Linked DNA regions of Homo sapiens: all the other regions are linked to region 1. Evidence: promoter capture Hi-C in 16 types of primary human blood cells and fetal thymus (Javierre and others, 2016). All regions are on one chromosome and are shown on one strand. The core of a region is centred on a gene start or on the middle of the fragment in contact, and the rest is flanking DNA. Distances in the headings are between cores, read along the strand shown.

Region 1 (3,991 bases), core at 1,003-3,502:
ACAGGAAACTAAGGCTCAGAGAACTTAATTAAGGTCATACAGAAGAGGCAGGAGACAAACATCTGTAGAAGATCACACACTACATCTAAAAAGTCAGAAATAGATGAGCCATTGTAACGAACAAAAACAAATAAAAGTAAACAGTAATCGCTCTGAGAGACCATCCTTCATGTCTTTTGTGTTCCTACATGTCTTGCTGGATATGCCAAAAATGTAAGGCCTTGACCACTCCTTACCCAGGTCATTTGTTAAGGCTGGATTTATAGGAAACAACCTTGAGAGATAAGGTAATGCCTTCTTCTGAAATAAAGAGAAAGCTTTCTGTAAAAGCAGTGGATTCTCCAATGTCAGAATTCTTCTGTATTTTCAGCCTCCTGTAATTGTTCCTTGCATTTAATGAGTACTCAGGAAATGTCTGATGTGAGAAGTCAAGGACAAAGAGTAGGGTAGTAAAAGAATAGGTACCAGGAATGAATTACCCGACTATTATATCTGTGACCCTTGATTATTCTAAAAAATAAAACAATATCAAACACATTTAATAGAAATAACAGCTAACATTTCTTAGTGTCTTCTATGTTCCCAGTAAGTTCTTAATGCTTTTTGTTGCTTTACCCCTTGCAACAGCACTTTGAGGTAGGTAATATTGTTGTCTTTGTTCTACAAATGATGAAACTGGGGCCTAGAGGCATTAAGTAGTAGTTTGCCCAATGTGTCATAGCTAGTAAGTGATGGAAGCAGGCTCTGAAAGCTGTCTCTCTGGCTCTGACACACGTACTCTCAAACACCTCCTTAGGAAGTTACTGCTACCTTTTGGTAATAAATGGGAGCTTTTATAGGATCACTGGCTTCCAGTTTTCACCAAGAAATGTAGAATGAAAAATAATACCATTTGCCCTAGCAATCCCATTACTGGGTATATACCCAAAGAAACAGAAATTGTTCTACCATAAAAACACATGTACATGCGTGTTCATTGATATTCATGATAAAGACATGGATTCAACCTAAATGCCCATCAACGGACTGGATAAAGAAAATGTGGTACACATATACCATGGAATACTATGCAGCCACAGAAGAATGAGATCATGTCCTCTCAGGGACATGAATGCAGCTGGAGGCCATTATCCTTAGCAAACTAATGCAGGAACAGAAAACCAAATACTGCATGTTCTTAGTTGTAAGTGGGAGCTAAATAATGAGAACAAATGGACACAAAGAAGGAACAACAGACACTGGGGCCTACTTGAGGAGGAGAGTGGGAGGAGGGAGAAGATCAGAAAAAATAACTATTGGGTACTACACTTAGTACCTGGGTGACGAAATAAGTTATATACCAAACCCCTGCGACATGAGCTTACCTGCACTTGTACCCCTGAACCTAAAATAAAAGTTAAGGGAAAAAAAAATATTTGCAAAGAAAAGGGCCTTGAATTTGCTTCTGATACATACGCGATATAACCTGAGGAAGATCCTCTCAGCAATAAGACTATACATGATGGGGCAAGTGTCAACTGCATACATTTGTCAGGACCAAATTTGTAGCTCATAATTTTTATGCAACTGTTTTTACCTTGGCGAGAATCAATGCTACAAATACTATTCCAAGTCTTAGTATATGGAACCAAACTCAAAACAGATGTCCAGCTAAATGCATTAAAGATCACAAGAAAGGAATTGACAAAGCTGAACACCATAGTTCTTCATTGCTAAGCATCTGAGGAGCGTCTGGTAGCTCCCCTGGGTCAGTCTTTCTATTATGATTTCTAGAACTTTATTTTTTCATTTTTTAAAAAATTCCAGGTGTTGAGAACTCACCTTTTCTAGTAGTTTTCCCTGGGAACACTTGGGGATCTACAAACATCTGAAATTGGAGGATGCTAATGGGCAAGAATCAAGAGAAAGGTAATTCAGAGACGACAACGAAGTGGGAAAGAAATTACAGGGTCAAAGCGAAAGAAAACCAAGCTGCTTGGGTAGGAAGGTGCAATGCAAGCCAATTGTTTACTGTATCTTGTCCGCTCCCAGAGCTGCGCCCGAGCTCTCGCGTTAACTAGGCAACATCGTTGCCACGGTAACTGGGAGGCGCGGGAGGGCGACAGCTCCCTGGACTCCCGGTAACCCTTACGTGCCCGGGGCTGGTCCGTGGGGCGGGGTGAGAGATGCCGGAATCTCGCGAGAGCTCCCGGGGGCCGTTGGGTAGCGTCTTCGCTGTTGCCCTTAGGGACGGCTGTGGGCCTGCTGGGGGTGGGGGCCCGAAGCGCCAGAGATGGCTGCTCAGCGAGGGATGCCCAGCTCCGCCGTGAGGGTCCTGGAAGAGGCGTTGGGCATGGGTTTGACGGCAGCCGGGGACGCGAGGGACACGGCGGACGCGGTGGCGGCTGAGGGCGCCTACTACCTGGAACGTATCCTTCCCGTGGAGGCGCGGCCCGCTGCGCTGGCGGGTAATGGGTGTTGGGACGAAGGCGAGGGCCTCCCACTGGCGGCGCCTTTTGAGCCTTGGGGCCACTCCGGAGGAGCCTCTGTTGGACTTCAAGGTGCTGTTTTTGCCACCACAGTCTTCCTGAGAGCCACTCACTGAATTTCTCGCCCTTAGTAGCCCAGGGTGTCCTGTACCTGTTAGAAGAGTTGGGAGACCTTCCAAGGCCTCATACTTAGTAACCACTCAGTACATTTTGGATGGAGGGTTGCTTTTTATGTTAAGACAGCACAACAAATTGCTTCAACCCTCCTTTCAAATAATGGGTTTCCTAAATAAGCCCTCAATCTTTCAGAAAGCCGTCCCAATAAATTCAACGGAGGAACGTTAGGAGACTAGGGAAAGACCTCTGCCATTGGACTTTAAGGAGCTGAAGCTCAGAATACCCAACCCACGATCCTGTTCGATGGTCCAGTTAATGCTTAAATGCTTAGTTTTGATAGCATTATCTTCCTGAGTAGTTCCAAGTTTGACTACTTAATAATAAATACTAATAGTATAGTTGCTTTTTTTTCTTGAGCAAATAAATAATGATCTGGTGAGCTACACAGCTCAGAGATATTAGGAATAAAGCAGATGGTGATTAGCGATTTTTATCGGAAGTACCAGAAAAATTGAATAACAATGTGTGGATAATTAGGTCCACTATTTCTTGTGTAAGGCTTTAGAACTTCTTTCCTCTAGTTATATAGATTAATTCCTACTAGGGAGACGGGGAGGGTTCATGAGAAAAAGACATGTAACTCCTTTATTCAGGGAGGTAAGAAAGAGATGATTATCTGTTCAGTTCTTAAAGATACCAAGGAAACTCCAAAATCTGCCAAATCTTATTTGTTTGTCCAACTGTAATCCTCTCCAGGTTTAATTCAAGATTTCAGAAATCCAGCAATGATTCATTTCGTGAGCTTTGACAAGCCGATTAACCTGTCCTGACTCAGGCTCAGTACACATCCACACTACAGAGAGCTTTGAAGAATTTAGCTGAAAGATTAAAGAAAATATGTAGTATTTTATTGGGTGCAAAAACGACTTTTACAGGAATAGAAATTTGAATCGCTTGAAATGAATTTGAAAGAAATATATGGGTGCTTTAGTGTCATAAATGAGGTTTTATACTGTTTTCGTAGATGTAACAGGCAGTCTTTTCCAGTGATATTCCTCTTTAACAACGATTTTCATAATTCTTCCTAAGCTTATCTATATCCAGTGCCCTTGCTACTGAATGGTAACCAGGCATCTTGTAATTTTGTTTGCATTAAAATTATTTCCGTGAACACATAGTTTAATTGTTAACATGAGATTGACACAATGAGGTAACTTTTTGCAAACATCTTTGTGAAATAAATGGTAGGAGTCTAACATAACACAACTTTCAGCAATGAAAATCAGGTTTACTTAATGTGCAGGGAGATCACTGAGTCACACCTGCCAAGATGTAGCAGTTTGCAAACCTGTCTTACAAAGACTTTTTCAAATAATCACACTTATTTGAACTTTAACACATATAAG
Region 2 (3,900 bases), core at 1,006-3,505, 2.4 Mb after region 1:
GAGCTCCCCCTGCCCTGCTCTTACCCAAGTCTCCCTTCTCAGTTCTGATCATCCATCCTACCTGGAGCTTTGGAGGCAGGTTGCCTTGTTAGCAGGGCCAGCTGTTTCTCCAGGTCTGGATGTTGTTCTCTTGTTTTAATCAAGGCATTGGCTATGGTCTAGAGCACACAGAGAGCATCTTCCAGAATAGCCAGCCCATATGCCTGGCTTTCCATAATCCCATCACGAAGATGATGGGATATCCTATTACTCACGCTTCTGGAAAGAAGACTCCCTGATCCACTCCACATCAGTCATGGGACCTATCAAAGGAACTTGCCTCAACTCCTCTCTTCGGTTCCTTTTCCCCTTTTCCATCTCCTACGGCAAGAGGTGCTTTCTCATTTCTGACATCTGGGATGATAACTGTGCAGCCGTGTAAATAGCTTTAGGGAAACTCTACCTCAAGATCTCCAAATCCCTCTCTTTTAGTCTTTTCACTTTTAGACCTTTTAAGCTTGCATATCACAGCAAATCATGATGAGAAAACCAAATGGAAAGGTTCCCAAAGCAAAATGAATGGAGCTATTAAAATAAGATAAATTAGGCTACATTCAACAGCAAAATTTGGCTTTAGAGACTCTGTTATCTCCACCTTAACACTACCTATCAACGCTGACACTCAAATCTTAGGCTTAACTATTATATAAACAAGGCTATACCTAAGCACCTTGGGTCAAAGTCTGTTCTGCCTGTTGAAAATGTGAATAAATGACAAATTACTCCAAAGTTTGTGGTAAGATTTCCATAGGGATTGAGGATTGATTAACAACTGCATTTTCAATTTTACTGTGAACCAGTATCTGAAAACAGTAAAACTTTTGTTTCTAGAAAATAAGCACTTTTAAAAGTGCTGAATGCATAAAGGGAGGTTTTGAAGACTCACCTCCCCCAGGACTCACATCGTCTGAACAAGTAATCAGTTTCTGCAACTACCATTTGCTCGGTCATCGTTTCTGAGTTTGGTGACAAGGGAGGTATTACCAGATGAATACAGCAGTACTCTATTACCCAATCTTTTGGGTTATTAGGGTTGGTGATAAATTGCTCACAGTAGGAGTTGTCTAGCCTCACCTATCAGTTACTGAAGTCACAGAACGGTGTGATAGGCTTCAACTCTAACTAGAGTTTCAACTTCTGCTACTACTGTGTCACTTTGATCAGGTCACTTCAGAGATTTTGTTCCTATTTATCAATAAGATGCAGAAAAAAATACTCCTCACTTTCTTACTCTACAAAAACAATGTGAAATTGTTCATGCATATACTTATGTAGCTTCCTGAAATAATCTGTGCACAAATATGTTCCTTTGCCCTATGTGCCTACCGTCTGACATCATTAAAAGATCTGACAGCCAATGTTAGAACCACACTTTACCAGCTGCATTAGCTTTTCAGTGCCTGCCATACCCATTCCTTGCTGTTTGAGAGTTGTCATGTCTGATCACCCTCCTCTCTGTTAGTTGACATCAACTCTGGCCCGTCCTTCACTTGCTAAATTTTACCTCCTCCCCATTTTTCCTCCAACCAGTCAAATGAGCTTAATGAATTTCTAGACTAGTGCTTCTCAAACTTTAGTGCGCAAAATAATAATAGAAATCTTGTTCAAGATGATTCCAGTGCCCCACCCCCAGATTTTCTGATTCAGTAGCTATGGGGAGTACCTGAGAATTTGCATTTCTAACAAGCTTCCAGGTGATGCTGATGCTGATGCTGATGATCGTTCTGAGTAGAGCTGGCCCAAATATGGAATCTACTCATGAAACTATTGAGGAATGAGAGCGGAAGGTTGGGAGGAACTGAGAGAAGGGGAGATGACTACAAGTGGGTGGTAAATATTCAGAGCCAAGAAATGACTAGTAAGAAAAAATTGAAGGTAAAGAGTTCTATTATGGAGTTTCCTGGTGTAGTGGACTGCACAGCTGATATTCTGCTGTGGTTTTCCCAGTATGGAAAAACAAATGAACACACATGTCTGACTATATAATTTGGGAACAGTATAGAAGTCCTGACTATTACTCTTTTTACTGGACATCATTGACTCCAGAATGTCCAAGAATGTCATAATGAAATAATTTTTTCGGACACTAGCTGTTTAACAAAGAAGTGAACCAGTCAGGTACAGTGCCTCACACCCATAATCTTGCATTTTGAGAAGCCGACGCAGGAGGATTGCTTGAGGCTAGGAGTTCCAGATCAGCCTAGGCAACAAAGCAAGACCTTATCTCTACAAAAAATTAGAAAAATAGCCAGGAGTGGTGGCATGCACCTATAGTCCCAGCTACTTGGGAGGCTAAGGCGGGACGATAGCTTGAGCACAGGATTTCCAGGCTGCGGTGAGCTATGATTGCACTACTGCACTCCAGCCTGGGTGACAGAGAGACACCTTGTGTCTAAAAGAAAAAAAAAAAAAGATTTAGAAAAATTTCCAAAATATAGTAGCATCCATGATCTCAGAAACAGAAGTTTTAAACAAAGACTTTAAGCAACTGTTATAACTATCTCCCATAAAGTAAAAGTGAACACTAAATAAATGTATGGAAATTTTTTTTTGTATTTTTCCAAACATTTATTTGTATGCATAAAAAAACAAATACAAATTGTAGAATTTGAAAACAATAATATCTGAAATAACTCACTGGACAGGCTCAGTAACATAATGGGGATGATGGAGGAGTCAGTGGATTAGCAGGCAAGTCAACAAAAATTATTCACTTCATCCAAATTATCCAAGAACAGAGAGCAAAAAGCTTTATAAAATAAATACAGCCTCAGGAACCATTGGGGAAAATATCTAATGTTTGTGTCACTAGAGTCATAATTAGAAAAGAGAAAAGTATTAGTGTAGAAAAATATTGCATAAACCATGATAGAAACTTCCCAAATATGGTGAAAGGCATACATTCACAGATTCAAGAAGCCCAGCAAACCCCAAACAAGATAAACTCATAGAAAACCATGTCCAGATACATCAAATTTAAACTTTTGGGAACTGAAGATAAAGAAAAACGTGTGAAAGCCACCAGAAAGGGAAAACATGACACATTACATATGGGGAAAAACAATTTGAAAGATGGCTGATTTCTCATTAGACACTTTAGAGGCCAGAGGAGAGTGTCACAACATTTTTAAAGTGTCAGGAAAAAAGGGACTGTCAGTTCTGAAATTATCATTCAGGAATAAAGGCAAAATAATTGCCTTCTCAGATGAAGGAAAACTAGGAGACTTCATTATCAGCAGGCGTGTTTAAAAAAATGCTAAAGGAAGCTTTTCAAGGTGGAGAAAAGTGATAACAGAGGGAAACTTGAAACTTCATAAATGAAATAAAAGCATAATAAAGGGTAAATATCTTGAGAAATAGACTGATTTTCTGCTTTTAAGTATTTAAACATGTATGATTATGGAAAACAAAAATTATAACATTATTTCACAGGGTTCTCAATGTATGTAGATGTAAGATATATAAAAACTATAAAATAAAGAAGGGAGATTAAAGAACTCAATATGCTTGCAAGGTTTCTACATTTTCCTTGAAGTGGTAAAATATTAATTCTAAATAGACTTTGGAAAGTTAGGTCTGTATATTGTAATTCTTTGAACAACCACTGAACCATTGAAAAGTAACACAGTGATATAGTCAAAAGGCCAATTAATAAATTGGAATTAAGTACTGAAAAATATTCATGTAATCCAAAAGAAGTCAGAAAGGAGGAAACAGAAGAAAACAGAGAGGATAAGCAAAACACAAATAATCATAGATTAGACTTACATTCAACCATATCAATAAACACATTAAATGTAAATGGTTTAAACACCAGTTAAAAGACACAAATTATCTTATTGGATAAAAAAGAGACCAAAC
Region 3 (3,700 bases), core at 1,055-3,554, 2.2 Mb after region 1:
TTTGTAGAGTTGGGGTTTCGCTGTGTTTGGCCAGGCTGGTCTTGAACTCCTGGCCTCAAGTGACCCACCCGGCTCAGCCTCTCAAAGTGCTGGGATTACAGATGTGAGCCACCACACCTGGCAGACAATAAATTCTTGAAAGATTCCTGATACTTTACCAACTTACACATTAAGTTAATCTTCCCATTTTCTTTGTCCAATTAAGTTTTAAAGCAAAATAATATAAATATTTATAGACCCAAATTGTAAACACATTTCAGTTTTGAAGAACAATATAAAGTAAATATACTATGGAATTACAATTAGAAAACCAAGTTTGCACTGATATTTTTAAAACTTCTCTGGGGAACTTAGTTTTTCAACTTAAGGACACAAGTATTAAATTAGAAGGTATTTTCCTTCACTAACGAAAATTTTTGTTTTTTAATTATCTATTCTTGTCTTTCAAATTTAAGTTTTAATGGCGGACCAATTAATGTTGCTTAAAGTTACAACTTAGACAAACAGTTAAAATAGCTTAGCAAATTGTGGTTCTGGTTGTTCTCCTATAGGTAATTAAGAGGGCAATGACTCAAGATTTAAAAAATTAAATAACATGTCCACACAATTTTCTCTGAAATGTTCCCTTCAGATTTTTAAAACAGGTTTATTGAGATATAATTGCCATCTCATAAGCCCCACATACCTGTATACAATTTGACAAGTATTGACATACTTTTGACAATTTTCTATTACGTACATTTTATCTTTTCTTTTTTCTTTTTTTTACACCACCCCTCTCCACTTATTACATATATTTTGACTGTTGTTTTAATATTTCCTTTTAGCTTATATAGCATTAAATCCTTTTCTATCAGTCTGAGCTTTGGAAAGAAATTTTATTTTTTTGGAACAAGATATCAAAGAGTAAAATTGAAGAAAAGTTTAATCTCAAACTCATGGGGGAAAAGACATCACAGGAAATAAATGCTAAAACCATGGCTTTTTTATGTGTTGAATTAAATAGTTATTAAGTTAATTGGTAGATAATTATGAGATCTATTATCATTTAATATAATTAGTATGTAAATAAGGTGATATAAATTATGTTCTGTGAGAAGTTGTCACTGATGGTGATTGTTATCTCTGTGTAAAAGTGAGAAAACCAACAGAAAGATGATGATTATTAGTGGCAAGATTAATGATCATGGGCCTTTTCTAATTCTTATGGCCCAATCTGGTATTTTTCTTCTCCTCATTTTGACTTTACCTATACTTTTTTTTTTTTCCACACAGGCCAGCATATTATTATAGCTCTTTCAAAAATTTTATATTGATTCTTTTTTCCCCAACAGTACTGTAAACTCTTTGATTGTAGGCACTAAATTAATTCCTTTTAGAAAGACTTTTTTTTTTCTTTCTACCATTTGAAGTTTTTTAAGTTGTGTGGTGGAGACTGCTAGTTGCCCACACAGATCCATTCTCTTCTTTCACAGTTAGTCCCATTGTACACAGTTAGGCTAAATTTTACAGTCTCCCTTGTAGTTAGGCATGGCAATAGAAATAGTTCCTCATCAGTGGACTGTGAGAAGAAGCGATCTATCCCAACTCTGGTTCTGTGCCTTAGTTTAATAACGTCACTCCTCCAGATTCCCTTGTTCATTCCCACTAGCTGAAATACACAACACAGAGGACACCCAGCTTCTAACCATGTAGATGATCAAAATGCCTTGGGAAAATTTGGGACCTGAATTATCATGAAGAGCAGACCTTGACTATTGACATGAGCCATTCACTTTGAGACTGTTGCATGAGAAGTAGACACCCTCCTTTATTGTAGAAGGCCCTGTGTTACTGAGCAGCTTTGTTACAGCAGCCCAGCTTTCATAGTAACCAGTATGATGCACTACCTTCCTTACATGCCTAGTTGCTCAGCTGCTCTGTTCCTGCTGACTGCATGTGATTTGTTTACTAGCTTTGCCCTGGTATTTGCAATTCTACTTTCGAGTTTCCTCTCTTTTCCTAGCTTTCCATAAACTCCACGCAGAATTTTAGCTTCTAAGCTAAACTCCCATAATATTTTACCATTTGTTTTTAAATAATAAATTCAAGTCTTCCGTTAAATATTCTTGAGCACCTGCTAAGAGAACTGTTATGGTTTGAATGATGTCCCTCCCAAATTCAGTCTGGACCCCCAGTCTTTCAGAATGTAACCTGATTTGGAAATAGGATCTTTAAAGAGGTCATCAAGTTAAAACACGTACATCAGGGTGGATCCCAATCCAATATGACTGCTGTCCTATAAGAGAGGGAAACAGACACACGGGCAGGGAGAATGCCAGGAAAGATGAAGATAAAGATCAGGGTGAGGCATCTACAAGCCAAGGAGAAACGAAGATTTACCGCAAACCACCAGAAGCTGGAGGAGAGGCATGGAATAGATTCTTCCTCACAACCTTCAGAAGGAACCCACACTGCTGACATCTTGATTTTGGACTTCTGGTTTTGAGAAGTGTAAGACAATGCATTTCTGTGGTTTAAGGCCTCCATTCTATGGTACTTTGTATTACCCTAGCAAATGAATCCAAGCACCTGGAGTATTAATGATAACAAGAGAATGAGTGATAAATTTAGGTTCATAGATAGAACTCCAGAGGCATGACATAATATGCCCAAAGGCAAATGCCTGGTTAACTGAAGGGCTGAATTTGTTGATTCTTGCTCTTTCTTACAGATGTTTTTGTGTCAATCATTGTGTGTAGGAGACGTTGATAGATAAGATGTAGGCTCTACTTTTAAGGAATGTAAAATGTACTAGTCAGTTGACAGAGATAAAAAGGTTGATTTTTGTACACTATTGGCAAGTGTGTCAGTTGGAAAAATGTATACATGTGCACAGATTTTTAGGAGTGAAAATTGAGGTAATCTTTTAAAAGGACATTTTGGCAATATTTAAAATGCACGAACCTAAGACACAGTAGACTGAACACAAGCATTTCCTCTACACCCTCCTGAAATCACACCTATAGTTCAGAGATGAAAACAATTTAAACCTACAAGAATAAAGAGAATAAGAAAGGAGACAGTAGATGAGAGACAACAACATTTTGGAAAAAGGAACACAGGTGGAGAAGTGATACCTAAGGTCACAGAATTAATGCCTGCAAGCCAAAAAAAAAAAAAGAAGCTGATTGATATTCAAGAAACCCGGAAAGCCTCAATCATGGGAGGCATCAGGTACCTCTGAAGGGAGGGCAGGAAAGTGGGACTGAGAGGTGTTTGAAAGTATCTGCATAAAGAATAACTGGACGCCCTTGTTACTCCTGCCCCTATTCTACCCAGCCATGGACTGATCCACTCCTCTTGCCCAAGTAGGACCCAGGAAATTTGCTGTGTAGATAGATTGAACCAGAAAAACCCCAAACTCAGTGGCAGGGAGGGTGATAGTGGTGAAGCACAGGGCTAAAAAAAATGGAGAGTTAAGTGAAGGTATACATGCTTACTCTCCATTTGGCAGATTGAAAATGTTCTCTCTGGACTTAGTCTCTTTGGAGACAATAATCTGTAGATCTGACACTGGGGAGTCCTGTAGTGAAATAGCCAGATTCTAACCCCATCACCTACAGTGTTGCCAATCAGTCACTAAGCTCCACTCCTCTGTGCAGTTTCCAATCAGATCTTTAGTGTCCCGATTCTAAACATGAATGGATGTCAAAGGATC
Region 4 (3,673 bases), core at 482-2,981, 2.4 Mb after region 1:
TATAGCAAGAACTCAACGTTAGCTATCATGTTTATTTAAACTTCCTAATTCACTTTGTAACTTCTGTGCCTAAGGTGAAGATCCAGGAATACTTAAAGAAATCTCTGAAACAGTTTCTTCTTCGTTTTTTTTTTTTTTTTTGAGATGGAGTTTCACTCTTGTTGCAGTGGCACCATCTCAGCTCACTGCAACCTCCGCCTCCCAGTTTCAAGCGATTCTCCTGCCTCAGCCTCCCGAGTGGCTGGGATTACAGGCATGCACCACCACGCCCAGAAAATTTTGCATTTTTAGTAGAGACAGGGTTTCAAACCATGTTGGTCAGGCTGGTCTCGAACTTCCAACCTTAGGTGATCTGCCCGCCTCGGCCTCCCAAAGTGCTGGGATTACAGGCGTGAGCCACCGCACCCGGCCAACAGTTTTGTAACCTCAGCACCACTGGCATTTTGGGCTGAATAACTTTTTGTTATGGGGGTGCTTTTCTGTGCATTGCAGATGTTTAGCAGCCTCTACTCAGCAGGTGCCAGGAGCATCTCCCCATTTCAGTCATGACAACCCAGTATGGCCTCAAGACATAGCCAAATGTCCTCTGGGAGAATGAGGGAAGGGACAGAGTCAAAACTGCCCTTGACAAGGACTCTAGAATATTCAAAAATTTAAAGCATATGTCTAAAGCAGATTTTCTCTATCAATGGCACTGTCCAAACATAGACCAGAGATTCAAACAGCAACTATTTCTTTTTTAAAAAATCTAATTTCTGATAGGATAATTTAGTTACAATTTGAGGGGAAAAGGTGAAACAAGAAAACATAAAGGAAAAGAAGGGAGAGAGAAAGGAAGAAAAAACAGGAGGGAAGGAAGAAAAAGAGAAAGAAGAAAGGAAGGAAGAAAAAAGAAAGAAAGACACTTAATTGTACAAGAAGAATTATCTATCACTTAACTAGAGACCAGGTCCTCTCTTCCTCTATGCTACAGCAATTTCCAGTTTTTTTTAGCTAACACACAGTAACTGAAATCTAGAAGCTTTATCTAAAAAGCATTTGTTTTAAAAGATTAAGGAAAATCCCATTAGATGGTTGGTGGCCTGTGTTTTGTTACATAAGTCATGTGGGCTAACTTAAAGATCAACCACTCCTTTCAGTGCTCACTTCTGAAATGGATTTTGTTGGAGGGAGAAAAGGAGGAAAAGATAAAAAGGAACCAGAAATGTCCATTCATTCTATTCATGAAAATTGCTTTTAGTATTTATTTACCTCCAAGTCTTTGTTAGACAGGACCTCCATTATTATCTTACTCATCTATTTTTATTCCTTTTGACAAAAACTCACTTCTAATTACTACAAGATAGTTTAAATCAACCTCCCTAGTGCTCAGGTTGGTGTCGATAAAGCTAACTCGGCAGTTTGGTTTTTGAAAATTGATGAGGAGGAAGAAGAGCTCAGATTTAATTCTAACCAGCAAAATGTAACTCTGATCCCAAAAGATCACCAATACATCCTTGAGGCAAGTAGGAATGTATACATTAAAATGTATTAAATAGTCCAGTCCAAACTCAGTGCTACATTCAGAAAACATCAGCCTAACATCCAACAATAACTAAAAACAGTGTAAATTTTTCTTTCACTTTCCTTAAAAATTCCAGGAGGAAAATTATGTTCACAATGCAGACTAGAAACCTCTGTTGTCCATTTGCCACTAGCGCTGCCACCCATATGTAGCCGTGTCCCCCAGCAGTTCCTGTCCTTTGAAACTCCCCTAGAACTCAGCCTCCAACTCAGTGCTTGTATTTTCAATTTCTCTCATCCCTTCCACCTTACCAATGTATTTGTTTTCTTCTCACAGTAGTTGTCTGTTCTTTTGATGTCTATCCAGCTATGATTCCCAACCTTAAAAGATGTTTTCTTCTCTCTCTCTCTCTCTCTCTTTCTTTTTTTCTTTGAAACAGAGTCTTGCTCTGTCATCCATGCTGGCGTGCAGTGGCGTGATCTTCGCTCACTGCAACCTCTGCCTGCCAGGTTCAAGTAATTCTCCTGCCTCAGACTCCGGAGTAGCTGGGATTACAGGCACACACCACCAATGGTAGTTGTCTGTTCTTTCGATGTCTATCCAGCTATGATTCCCAAACTCATAAGACAGTCTCATGGGCCCAACAAGTAAGGAAATACAGAATCTCTATCATTTAGAAAAGACAGAAGCTACAAATACTCATGTAAATATATTTATATTACATATAATATGTGTATGTGTGTGAGTGTGTGTGTGTGTGTGTGTATGTGTGCATAACCCATCCCTGTACAAAACAAATAGAGGGAGTTGGCTTGTTTATAGAATAATGAAATATGGAACTATTCTCACAGTGAAATCATTACATGAAACTTTTATCAGAAAGGAAAATAATTTTCATTGCCTTTCTAGTGAGTGGCTTGGCTATGTATGTTTCTTCTAAGCTTTTATGACTGTTAGTACCAAGATGAAGTAAGATGAAGTTGGGAATCAATTCAGCTGCTCTTTCTTTCTTTTTTTTTTTTTTGCTTTTGAGAAAGGATCTCCCTCTGTCAGCTAGGCTGGAGTGTAGTGGCATGACCATGGTGGCAGCTTTGGCCTCCCAGGCTCAAGTGATCCTCCTGCCTCAGCCTCTGAGTAGCTGGGACTACAGACATGCACCACTGCACCTGGCTAATTTTTTGATTTTTTGAAGAGACAGGGCCTCTCTGTGTTGTCCAGGCTGGTCCCAAACTCCTTAGCTCAAGGGACCCTCCTGCCTCAGCCTCTGAGTAGCTGGGACTACAGACATGCACCACTGCACCTGGCTAATTTTTTGATTTTTTGAAGAGACAGGGCCTCTCTGTGTTGTCCAGGCTGGTCCCAAACTCCTTAGCTCAAGGGATCCTCCTGTCTCGGCCTCCCAAGCTGCTGATCTTTCATTGAGTTTCATTCAACTCTTCCATTAAACTCAATTCCAATTAGCTCTGCCTTCTGTTTTCTTTAAAAGTATAAGGAAGATGACAACCTCTATTTAATACTATATTTTTAATGGCTTTCAAAAATCACGTAAGTGGTTAAAAGTCCAGAGGGACTCAAGATCAGTGTTCACAGTCTATTAACTTCTAACACATTCTTCCATTATGCTTTGTGCTTTGAAATATTTGTCTTAAAACACAGTCTTAAAAACTGCATTAATTATAATAATGTCATTTTCTTCTTTTCAGAGTTTTTGTTCCATGTGAGATACCCACGCCACTTTAAAAAACAAACTATCCTGACATCTAATTACTTTGTGAATGATTGTAATGGCAATAACAATAGAGATGGAAGAATTTTGGAAACAATACTAGTTTCACAGCTTTCATGTGAGATGCCAAGGTTTTAGCATCGTCAGATTGGCAATGAGATTGGATAACTTCTGGGGTCTTTTTGAAATTATATCTTTCTTTTCTCTAGGATCCTACTTCTGGAAAATAAGATTAATACTAATACTAATAAGACACAAAGATTTTTAATGGAAATAGGAATATCTTCAAAGGCTGGATGGACATTGCATGCACTGTATGACAACATTCGTGTATAATAAGATCCTTTCCTTAGAGAATGGGGCAAATCCAGATGGAATGTGAGAAAGACTTCAAGGTTTCAGTGGAATATGCTTATATTGGGAATTGTATTAGTTAAGACTAG
Region 5 (3,472 bases), core at 507-3,006, 2.1 Mb after region 1:
GATGCTGCTTAAGGATGTTGGGATAATATTTATGACTATATCTATGCCATAAAATTAATATATGAGACTATTCTGGGGGAGAATTGTGTAGCAATTGTTATTGCCATAGTGACTACCATGTTTGTAGTGCAGAATACATATATTAGGTTATTGGAAGATGTTTACATCACAAAGCTGCTGAAATTTGAGATTTAGAATATAAAACATTGATGATTATTCAGAAAGTAGCTCTCTTGTAACAACACTTTAGACAGATAAATACAATAAAATTTTTACCCATGATATCCATGACCAGAAAGAAAATACATAAATTAAAAAGATTGGAAGAAACTATTTCAAATGCCAACCCTAATTGTTATCACAGGGTGGTAAGATTACAGGCTTCTTGTTTGTTTTATTGTTTCACATTGAAAATGTATTGTCCTTCAAAAACTAAATAATAAAGTCATCAGTCCTATTCTTCAAAAAGATAATGCATACCTGTCTCTTGGCAGCTGACTCCGTTGCCCAGGCACGTGCAAAGCATTTGCTTATTTCCTTGTGTCTTCAGCCACTGCATCCCCACAGAGTAGACCACACCACTGTCTGTGACACAGTGGCCATAGGGAGGAGGCTGGGGGTGAGGCTGCGGTTGGTAAACAGCTGCACGAACATCGGTGAAGGGGCCAGATCCTAATGGCATGAAAAGGGAATGTCACAAAACTGGGTGAGAGAAGACAATTCACTACTTTCTGCAGTCAGGATCTTCAGGATCTCACAGAGATCACTCTGAAATCTATGTCGCTACTGGCCTGGGACTGGAAAAAAATGTCCCTTATTCAGCAGTAGCTTTTGCATTTAGCCTAGGAAATAATCCACAAGTGTCTACCAAGTGGTCTCCATCCTCCAGCTCAGCTGGGGCTACTGGGATTATATTTCTTTTTGTTTGTTTGTTTTTTGGTTTTTTGGGTTGTTTTTGAGATGGGGTCTCACTCTGTTGCCCAGGCTGGAGTGCAGTGGCGCGGTCTCGGCTCACTGCAACCTCTGCCTCCTGGGTTCAAGCTATTCTCCTGCCTCAACCTCCCAAGTAGCTGCAATTACAGGCACGCACCACCATGCCCAGCTGATTTTTTTTGTATTTTTTAGTAGAGACGGGGTTTTGCCATGTTGGCAAACTCCTGACCTCAAACTCCTGTCTCAAACTCCTGACCTCAGGGGATCCACCCGCTTCGGCCTCCCAAAGTGCTGGGATTACAGGCATGAGCCACCTCGCCTGGCCGGGATTATATTTCTCAATCACAGACATCATCCTGCCACTCCATACAGCAGATACCTTCAACACATCCTCACTCTTCTGAGTAACCGAGCTCATCAGAGGGTGCCTTCAGCAGCTGTCCTGGATTTTCTGGAGGTCACCTCCACCTTCCACATTTTATTTCTCCTCTGGATTATTTGTGATTCTATTGTGTTTTTTCTAAAACCAATTGATCCTCTTAAGACAGCTTTCCTTTCAGAATAACACAACAGGATGTGTTGATCTTTTCTTTTTTCTTTTTTTTTTTTTTTTTTTTTTTGAGACGGAGTCTCACTCTGTCACCCAGGCTGGAGTGCAGTGGCGCAATCTCGGCTCACTGCAAGCTCTGCCTCCCGGGTTCACGCCATTCTCCTGCCTCAGCCTCCCGAGTAGCTGGGACTACAGGCACCCGCCACCACGCCCGGCTAATTTTTTGTATTTTTAGTAGAGACGGGGTTTCACCGTGTTAGCCAGGATGGTCTCGATCTCCTGACCTTGTGATCCACCCGCCTTGGCCTCCCAAAGTGCTGGGATTACAGGCGTGAGCCACCGCGCCCGGCCGATCTTTTCTTTCAACTTTTAGATATCTGTTCTCTTGAAGGCCAGGGCCCACCGCAGAACAGAATCAGGGCTGAGGCTAGACCAAAGGTACACTGAATTCAGTGCCTCCCTAAGTGCTGCTGAACACTAGAACCCAAAGATGTTCACAGACAAAGAATCCCAAGGTCAAACGTACTAGGGAGACATGGCGCCCATCCCCTACACTCTACCATGGAGAGTATGATGTAAAGGAACACACAGATTCTGCAGAGCAGGTTCCATTTTGTTTAACCCATTGCTTCTCAAACTTTTTTGAACAATGGAATCTTTTCAGTATTGGCAATATTCATATATAGCTAACATTTATTGAGTGTTTATCCCCATTTAATTCCCACCTACACTTTTAATCTATTTTGGTAGACTGACATTTATAATTTTTTTTATTTTTTATTTTATTTTATTTTTTTGAGATGGGGTCTCGCTGTATCACCCAGGCTGGAGTGCAGTGGTGCGATCTCGGGTCACTGCAAACTCCACCTCCCGGGTTCATGCCATTCTCCTGCCTCAGCCTCCCGAGTAGCTGGGACTACAGGCGCCCGCCACAACGCCTGGTTAATTTTTTGTATTTTTAGTAGAGATGGGGTTTCACCGTGTTAGCCAGGATGGTCTTGATCTCCTGACCTCGTGATCCGCCTGCCTCGGCCTCCCAAAGTGCTGGGATTACAGGCGTGAGCCACCGCGCGTGGCCGATGTTTATAATTTTTTTTGGCCAGTAGCAATTTTATTAATGATAATAAAATAACTCAAAGATATTATCAAATCTAATCTTGTTCACCTTCATAAGTGCTCAAAGCAAGACAAAAACTCATCAAAAGAAGAAAAATTAGAACAATTAATATTTTTAATTGAAGGATGGCTGAGACACTACGTAATGATGTTGGCACATCATATAGTAAAAAGTTAATCAAAACATATTAAAAATAATGAGAGGAGTGCACGTCCTTGTTGGCCATATTTCTCTCTTCAGATTTTTATGAAACATTTATGACGTAAAAATCTTTTTCTCATGCCAAAAATGATTAAAACTTGTTTTTTAAAAAGAATGCTTAGATATCATGTCTTTCATGGCCATCTCTAAGTCCTCTCTGAATTTCTAAAATTTCGAATGCCAATACATGAAGGAAATAATTGTGTGTTACTTTATAGAATGTAACAAAGTTTGCCAGAGCATAGAAACCACATATAAAGGATGGTTTCCACTACAAAAAGAGTTCAATGTCGGGACAGGGAAGTATATTTCATTCAAAAACAAACAAACAAAAAATCCAAATGCACTTTTTTTGTCCTTTCCTAGCAGAAGAACCAGGTAGTCATATAATTAATTATAACTCTCATTTCCTTTCAAATGAACTTTGGATATTCAAAATACGTGTGTGTGTGCGTGTGTGCGTGATCTATCCATGGTAAGTTTTATGATGCTAGCATTCTTTAAAACTCAGTTTTATCTTTTGGAGATAAATCTGGCTTTTTTCCCCCTAAGGTTTATTTGTATGTCATTTTTCTTTTTTTCTGAAAAATTTAAAACTTGACATTAAAAAAAGTTTTAACAACCAATAATGTGTAAATTATCTTAGGTTATTAGCTGAAACACTGCAAATT
Region 6 (3,738 bases), core at 151-2,650, 2.1 Mb after region 1:
ATCATATAAATGACAGGTGTTGCTATTAAGAATGACTCAAGACTTGTGTTTTTGGTACTCTACATGCCATTCATTCATTCTTTCTACTAAGAGTAATAGAAAGAATGAATGGCATGTAAGGTAGACATAGAGCTGCTCTAGAGCTCTATGTCAGCAGTTGTATGCCAACAGGAAATGTGGTATTTTAATACTTCCGAAGGGTCTCTGCCCCTCCTGTGTGTACGACACATCCTTGCAGGAGCCCACCCTTTATCTTATCTAACTTGTAGGGAGCCTGGCACATCCAGTCTTACCCGCTGGCCTCCAAAGCATGTGCAGGAGCAAATGGCACCGAGATATTCCTTCTGCCACTGTTCTCCTACGTGGTATGTCTTCCCATCATCATAACACGTTGCCTCATCTGCATATAGACACAAGACAGATGCACGCATAAGCTGAGAACAATACTGCAGACTTGATCTAGGGGTGGGTTCTATTTCTGTCCTAAATTTGTATCATCACAGCGCAAACACCACATATTTATGTGAATCATCCCTAAGAGCAGTACTGCTATACAGATCTTAGGGTGGCACTTCCAAAAATTAGACCTAATACACTGGAAAGGGTCCAACGGGAAGATGGAAATCATATTTTAAAAGTTGAATCTACAGACCAATAAAGCTTCTTTGTAGCATTTTACTGCAGATAATGGTCAAAATACTCAGGTTGGACAAGTGCTAAAGTGTCCTGTAATAACATTAAATCATGACTCATTTTTGAAGCTTGTCTCCACTTTCCCAAATCAAAAGATTAAGAAACCCACTGTTCACTCCTCAAGGAGACCTAAAGTCTCCAATCATTTCTGTGAATGAGAGTTACAGCCTGATAATGAAAGTGAGAATGCTTAATAAGGCACTAAAAATGATCTGTGATGACATACGAGGGTCACACTTGAATTCTCCTTTTCCGTTCCCAAGACATGTGCAGCTCATCATCTGGCCATTTTCTCCCTGACGGTCCCACTTCTCTCCAATCTTGTAGTTCACACCATTGTCATGGCACCATCCTGTAGGGGTGGGGAAAGTCAGGACCAAAAAGTTATTTGTATATTCTGACTCACAAGACAGTAGGTGAACTGGGACGTGTCACAGGGTCTTCAGAACCATGATCTGGAAAAATAGCAAGTTAAAGATAAAAACCCCTATAATGGGCCATTTATTTTATTTATTTATTTACTTTTTATTTTTTTTTTTTTTTTTGAGACAAAGTCTTTCTCTGTCGCCCAGACTGGAGTGAAGTGGTGCAATCTCGGCTCACTGTAACCTCCATCTCCTGGGTTCATGCAGTTATCCTGCCTCAGCCTCCTGAGTAGCTGGGATTACAGGCACTCCCCACAGTGCTATTTTTTTTTTTTTTTTTTTTTTTGTATTTTTTGTAGAGATGGGGTTTTACCATGTTGGGTAGGCTGGTCTCAAACTCGTGAGCTCAGGTGATCCACCCGCCTCAGCCTCCAAAAGTGCTGGGATTACAGGTGTGAGCCACCACACCTGGCCAATGGGCCATTTCTTTGGTTGAATTTTAAAATATTATTTTTTATCATTTACCATTTTCTAGGGCATTTTAAGACCCAATTTATTCTGCCACAATCATGTCATCAGAATAGTCAAATGAAATGACTTTCATTTGAATTCTCACTATTAAGATTTAAAATTGTGGAAAACTAAAGTGGGATTGGAGTAGACTGTTAGGAATAGATCCTAGATGAAAAATCACTTTTGGATTTGCAGAAACCCTGGATACAAAGTAGTTCAATTAACCATAAAACAAGGATCAGCTGATCTCTACACGCCACCACCTGTTTCATGTACATGGGAAGAGTAAAAAATGAACCCGGATAAAATAAAACAAAAGCAAACAAAATGCTAAATCATTGGTTATTATCCACATCAAATAAGTCTGGTTCTGTGGAATATCTAAAAGTCACAGTTTTATGCCTTTAACTACTATACATAAGGGATGACTTTTTAACCTCCAGGGCTTATACAACAAAACACACCTCAGAAGCTTATATAACAATATACTACTTTTTCCATTTTATCAACAATTCAGCCTGCCTTAAGCTACAAAGTAAAATAATTAGACAACTGTGATATCAAAACAAAGATTATGTAAGTTGAGCCAAAGAGTCACATAAATGAACTTGACATCCCCGCTCCCACAATTGCACCTAAGTGCTCAAACAGGTAATAAACATACAAACTTAAACGTAGTTCGATTTCAGGAGTTAAAAACCATCTACTTGAAGTCAAATATTAAAATTTCCAGCTCCTAAACAGCATGTGATGTTTTTAGTGTTTTTCATTTTCAGATGGTCAAACATGGAAGTCTATATTGAAAACACTGGCTGGCTTTTACAACTTCAGTCTGGATTAAATGATTTCAAGTATACAAGTTAAGTAAAATACTTTGAAAATCTCTTTTACCAAGTCTTATATTCTAATTCCACAGGATATGATTTCTGTATGTCTATAGGAGGCTTATTTATAGGCATAACGGTCAACACCTATAAAAATGAACCAATTGTCAATAATCATCACATCTCCTAAACACAAAGAATAAATGAAAGGTTTATAAATTCTAATCCTAATCTCAAAGCATAATAGATATTTCCTAGGCACATTTTAACTTAAAAAATTTGAAAATTAAAACGTATTAGAATTTGAAAATCAAACATTTATCAATTCAAGTTGATTTTTAATGATCTAAAAGCAGATTATCTGTTTTTTCTTTCATATTTCTAGCAACGTTCAAGCTACCTGGGCTATGTGTGTGACGCAAAAGTGTGTGCATGGGTACTATGATATGTGCATGTTTGGTTTATGTTGAAGGAGGCTGTTTTTGAGTCTAAATGTTCACCTCTGATCTCATTCAACACTGAAGATTAAAAGAGATTTGAGGTTTTTCTGTGTCTCTAATACTCTTAAATAGACCTGGTTCCAAAAGTCTTTATCCATTTGTTTTCACAGAAAATTTCAAAAATCAAATTAGCACCATAATCTTATGTGTAATTAATAGTTGTATTGGCATACAACCCTTGAAATGAAGCAATGTCCAACAAGTAAAATTTCCCATCATTTTTCTATGATGCAAAATATTACTTCGAGTCAAACAGTATTCTCTTGTTTGCTTCATGTTTGGAAGAACCTGTGTCTTCCAAACATGCTTCCTTGGCACATGAGTGCATGCATGGAACTTGAGGAGACAAACACGGAAGTGGATGGACAAAGCAACTACTCACTAGATGAATCACATCTGAAATGACCACTTCCAAAGCCTAAGCACTGGCACAACAGTTTAAAGCCTGATTCAGACATTCGTTCCCACTCATCTCCAACGGCATAATGGGAAACTGTGTAGGGGTCAAAGCACGAGTCATCCGTAGGTTGGTTCAAGCCTTCGTTGACTATGAAGAAAAGGAAGAAAAAGCAAAAAGAGACATCTTATTAATCGATTTGGACCATAAGAAGAAAATCGAATGACTGTATACAATGACTTAATCTAAAACAAGAATTCCAGGAGGATTAAGAGGCATTCATCTGTTCTATCAAGGCATTAACTGCTCTAAAAAACCATGGTTAGATGTGACACCTGTCACAGGCACCCGACAGGAAGCCCATCTTTTATTTTTCCCTTGCTTCTAAGATAATTGCCATTTCTGTTGAAACTACTTCATAGAACATGGAACAGATCTTGAGGCAA
Region 7 (4,005 bases), core at 889-3,388, 2.1 Mb after region 1:
TACCTGGCGGAATTGTTTCTACTTTTAGCTACCCATGTCAGATCCTTATCTCAATTTCTGAGAGTTGATATTTTAACTGTAATTTATACACTGGGGCAAACAAAAGACTTTCAAGTAACCATAGTTATTTTTGTGGTCATTAGTTTTATTTATTTATTTATTTATTTTTTATAGAGACAGGGTCTTGCTCTGTTGCCCAGGCCAGAGTACAGTGACATGATCATAGCTCATTGTAGCCTTCGACTCCTGGCCTCAAGCGGTCCTACCACTTCAGCCTCCTGAGTAGCTGGGACTGCAGGTGTGCGCCACTACCCCTAGCTATTTTTTAATTCTTATTTTTTGTAGAGATGAGATGTTGCCATCTTGCCCAGGCTGGTCTCCTGAGCTCAAGCAATCCTTCTGTCCTAACCTCACAAAGTGCTGGGATTACAGGCATGAGCCAGTGCACCCAGCATTGGTCATTTATTTTAACTTTTTTTTTTTTTTGACCTCAAACCATCAATTTTATTGAATTGTAGATTATTAATAGTCATATGTCACATATCACTGAAGAGGTATAAATAGTAGTTATAAACAAACCTCTTACTCCACCCCTTTTAATGACTTAAAAATTATTTATATTTCTCTTATTTTGGCCTGATATGTTCTTCCACAAAACTAATAAATAGGTTTTGGAGAATGTGCACAAAAGATCCTTTTGAGAAGAAAGTGTCTTTGGAAGAGGTGTTCACTTTAATGTCTGTGTTCCTCAGGTTATCGGCATTGGAGCAGGACAGCAGTCTCGTATACACTGCACTCGCCTTGCAGGAGATAAGGCAAACTATTGGTGGCTTAGACACCATCCACAAGTGCTTTCGATGAAGTTTAAAACAGGAGTGAAGAGAGCAGAAATCTCCAATGCCATCGATCAATATGTGACTGGAACCATTGGCGAGGTGAAAGACTTGGCATTGGGTTCTCGGCTGTGTTAATATTCAGTTCAACCCTTTATGTGTAACAGATTTTAACTTCATCACCACACAGAGAAAAAGATACTTTCATTGAAATTCTATGTTGTCTAAAATTGATCATTGAAACTTCTTACACATTTCTCATGTTCTTCTGTCTCATGTAACTTTCTTCATTGTTTTTGACCCCTTTCTGAAACCACAGTCCTCTGTCTTTTTAAATTGCAGCCTTGGTGTAGGTTTGTATATTTGTACTTCCCCTGTTGATTATAAGCTTTTGATGACAAGGACTGCTTTTCACCTACGTCGAGGTGCCTGCCACCACGTCATGCATGGTGCTTGCTGTCCGATGGGTCTGTATTCAACATTAAATACAAATTGCCTGACGGCAGGTAACCCTGGGGTCTTCTCCCACCACATTTTCTACATGTGCCATTAATAACTTGATACATTTTGTTACATTTCATGTTCTTCTGTTTGAAGAAGGTATGTGGGAACATTACAATCGCAAACGTTAGGTAGGTAGCCCGCCAGAAGAAAAGATCTAGCCCAGTTTCTGGACATATTGCGTGCCTAACAAAATGCTGGATGGAAAACAGAAGGCTGCTAATCAAATACTAGATGGTCTTCTGAAGAGCCAATTGACTACCCTCAGTTTTTTATTCAGGAGCAGGAATCAACATAAGTGTCATTGAAGAGTGAGGCTGCAGAATGTAACTGAAGTCCTTAAGATATCTTTTTTTTTTCAACTTTGATACTTGGATTTTTCTGTTTGATATTACCAGTCAACCCCTGCTACTAGTCCTGAAAGAGTCCTGGAAGTGAACAAGAATAAAAGTATGTCAAAGCTAAAACATGACCCAAGATAGAAGCACCTTGTAAAATATGATTAACTGTCTGTGCCACTATGACACAATACTGCAGGCTGGGTAACTTATAAACCATAGACATTTATTTTTCATAGTTCTGGAGGCTGTGAAGTCCCAGATCAAGGTACTGGTGGGCTGAGAGTCTGGGGAGGCCTACCCTCTGCTTCCCAGATGGCACAGCCCTCTCTGGAAAGGACAAACACTGTGTCCTTACTTCACAGAAGGGGCATACTTCCCCTGAAGCCCTTTTATAAGTCTGTAATCCATTCATGAGGGCCCCACCCTCATTGCCCAATAACTTTCTAAAGGCCTTATACTTCTTAATACTGTTGCATTGGGGATTAAGTTTCAACATGAATTTTGGAGTGGATACACACACTCAAACCATAGCAAATATTATGAATTGTGTTTTGTCTACAACTGCCTTTACATTTAGAATAATTTTTGTATAAATGTAGTTAAAGAACTACTCATCTCTTTCCTAGATTGGATATAGAGGGTTTTTTTGAAAACCCTTGGAACACAATTTTTATTTGCTTTCTTTGCTACAGTAGTACCAAAGCAGTAGATTTAAATTAGACGGTAGTCTAATAGACATAAAGTAGTAGATACGAAGTAGATTTAAATTAGAGATTTTAAAACAGTGTATTTTTATGTAAGTAGCTTAGCCAAAAATAAAAAAAATTACATATGTACTTGGAATAAACTGATTTGGAAAGTAAAATGGTATTATCTTTATTTGGTAAACTTAGAATCACTTTTTTTCCTTAATGAAAATATTTCTAAAAGCATCAAAGAGATTCTAGATATGTGAACTTCCATGTAAATAATGGTCATTATTTACAATTAAGAAATCCTGGCCGGGCGCGGTGGCTCATGCCTATAATCCCAGCACTTTGGGAGGCCGAGGTGAGTGGATCATGAGGTCAAGAGATTGAGACCCTCCTGGCCAACATGGTGAAACTCTGTCTCCAAAAATACAAAAATTAGCTGGGTGTGGTGGTGTGCACTTGTGGTCCCAGGTACTTGGGAGGCTGAGGCAGGAGAATTGCTTGAACCTGGGAGGTGGAGGTTGCGGTGAGCCGAGATCGCACCACTGCACTCCAGCCTGGTGATAGTGCAAAACTCCGTCTAAAAAAAAAAAAATAATAATAATAATAAAAACAAGTCCTAAGAAAAATGCCCAGGTGCTTTCTGGCATGGTGATTTGCACCACATAGAACTAAAGACGATGTCAGACCAAGCTTCTTCCTTTCTCTCTCCCCGCATAGGATGAAGATTTGATAAAGTGGAAGGCACTGTTTGAGGAAGTCCCTGAGTTACTCACTGAGGCAGAGAAGAAGGAATGGGTTGAGAAACTGACTGAAGTTTCTATCAGCTCTGATGCCTTCTTCCCTTTCCGAGATAACGTAGACAGAGCTAAAAGGGTAAGTATGGAATTGGGTGCATTTGCTTAGAGTTGAGCATTATGTAGAAACTGTTTCAGAAATCCTGCTTTTGATTTTTAAAAGGTGTGGCAAAGTGATACAGATCAGTAATATTCAGAGAACCATTTGACTTCTCCATTGGGTGGATGGAGAACCCAAATCCTGTTGTTATTTTGCCTTTTTGACTGAGTGTATCTTTGTTAGCATATGCTTTTTAGAGGGGGATTTTGAGTTTTGCAGGTTTTTACATAAAATCGCGTTTTGAAAATCAATATACTTCCCCCAGAGTGGTGTGGCGTACATTGCGGCTCCCTCCGGTTCTGCTGCTGACAAAGTTGTGATTGAGGCCTGCGACGAACTGGGAATCATCCTCGCTCATACGAACCTTCGGCTCTTCCACCACTGATTTTACCACACACTGTTTTTTGGCTTGCTTATGTGTAGGTGAACAGTCACGCCTGAAACTTTGAGGATAACTTTTTAAAAAAATAAAACAGTATCTCTTAATCACTGGATCCATAGTTTTTGGTAGTTGTGTTTTATGTTAAAGATGCAGGCTCTTTGAACTGACACATGACACATAACACATAAATGAGGAATTCCAGAGCACCCCTGCCTACCGGAGCTCAGCCCATCCCACAGCACTGCCCGTGTGAAACATAAACATTAGCAGGAACCAAACGAGCTGAGCAGCCAGAGGACATGGCACAAGTCACTGTGTACAGGCCACACTTAAGGACTGGGAGTTATACCCATCTTAAA

The links. The method cuts DNA at HindIII sites, captures the fragments that hold promoters and counts their contacts. A CHiCAGO score of 5 or more calls a contact.
Region 2: a contact is called between a fragment that was not itself captured here and the fragment with the promoter of SPAG16 in region 1, in 1 of 17 cell types (naive CD8 T cells). The highest score is 5.2, in naive CD8 T cells.
Region 3: a fragment that was not itself captured here is called in contact with the fragment with the promoter of SPAG16 in region 1 in 2 of 17 cell types (naive CD8 T cells and activated CD4 T cells); the score reaches 8.8 in naive CD8 T cells.
Region 4: a fragment that was not itself captured here is called in contact with the fragment with the promoter of SPAG16 in region 1 in 4 of 17 cell types (total CD4 T cells, naive CD4 T cells, non-activated CD4 T cells and 1 more); the score reaches 7.7 in total CD4 T cells.
Region 5: a fragment that was not itself captured here is called in contact with the fragment with the promoter of SPAG16 in region 1 in 1 of 17 cell types (naive CD4 T cells); the score reaches 5.2 in naive CD4 T cells.
Region 6: a contact is called between a fragment that was not itself captured here and the fragment with the promoter of SPAG16 in region 1, in 7 of 17 cell types (naive B cells, non-activated CD4 T cells, naive CD8 T cells and 4 more). The highest score is 7.6, in naive B cells.
Region 7: a contact is called between a fragment that was not itself captured here and the fragment with the promoter of SPAG16 in region 1, in 6 of 17 cell types (total CD8 T cells, total CD4 T cells, total B cells and 3 more). The highest score is 9.2, in total CD8 T cells.

Annotation. Positions count from the first base shown.
Region 1 is chr2:213,282,212-213,286,202 of GRCh38, forward strand. It overlaps SPAG16 (sperm associated antigen 16), which reads left to right and starts at 2,253. Exons shown (of 16, transcript NM_024532.5): 1 at 2,253-2,408. The coding sequence starts at 2,273. It overlaps SPAG16-DT (SPAG16 divergent transcript), which reads right to left and starts at 1,998. Exons shown (of 3, transcript NR_161186.1): 1 at 1,822-1,998. RefSeq lists enhancers at 2,286-2,415, 2,456-2,505, 2,576-2,655. The HindIII fragment of the contact is 3,357 bases long and covers 316-3,672 here.
Region 2 is chr2:215,669,616-215,673,515 of GRCh38, forward strand. All of the region lies in intron 5 of LINC00607 (long intergenic non-protein coding RNA 607), which reads right to left. The region is part of intron 4 of LOC102724861 (a long non-coding RNA gene); the gene reads left to right. Among named protein-coding and RNA genes, the nearest start is that of LINC01614, 46 kb to the right of the region's middle. The HindIII fragment of the contact is 1,062 bases long and covers 1,725-2,786 here.
Region 3 is chr2:215,445,379-215,449,078 of GRCh38, forward strand. No RefSeq gene overlaps it. Among named protein-coding and RNA genes, the nearest start is that of FN1, 11 kb to the left of the region's middle. The HindIII fragment of the contact is 6,217 bases long and covers 1-3,700 here.
Region 4 is chr2:215,686,445-215,690,117 of GRCh38, forward strand. All of the region lies in intron 5 of LINC00607 (long intergenic non-protein coding RNA 607), which reads right to left. The region is part of intron 7 of LOC102724861 (a long non-coding RNA gene); the gene reads left to right. Among named protein-coding and RNA genes, the nearest start is that of LINC01614, 30 kb to the right of the region's middle. The HindIII fragment of the contact is 1,424 bases long and covers 1,020-2,443 here.
Region 5 is chr2:215,424,614-215,428,085 of GRCh38, forward strand. FN1 (fibronectin 1) reads right to left here. Exons shown (of 46, transcript NM_212482.4): 7 at 481-672. Among named protein-coding and RNA genes, the nearest start is that of FN1-DT, 9.3 kb to the right of the region's middle. The HindIII fragment of the contact is 5,386 bases long and covers 1-3,472 here.
Region 6 is chr2:215,364,586-215,368,323 of GRCh38, forward strand. It overlaps FN1 (fibronectin 1), which reads right to left. Exons shown (of 46, transcript NM_212482.4): 42 at 3,278-3,442; 43 at 920-1,045; 44 at 294-400. It also overlaps a transcript of ATIC not described here. Among named protein-coding and RNA genes, the nearest start is that of ATIC, 54 kb to the left of the region's middle. The HindIII fragment of the contact is 1,282 bases long and covers 760-2,041 here.
Region 7 is chr2:215,346,007-215,350,011 of GRCh38, forward strand. It overlaps ATIC (5-aminoimidazole-4-carboxamide ribonucleotide formyltransferase/IMP cyclohydrolase), which reads left to right. Exons shown (of 16, transcript NM_004044.7): 14 at 753-935; 15 at 3,088-3,243; 16 at 3,530-3,758. The coding sequence ends at 3,649. Among named protein-coding and RNA genes, the nearest start is that of ATIC, 36 kb to the left of the region's middle. The HindIII fragment of the contact is 1,839 bases long and covers 1,220-3,058 here.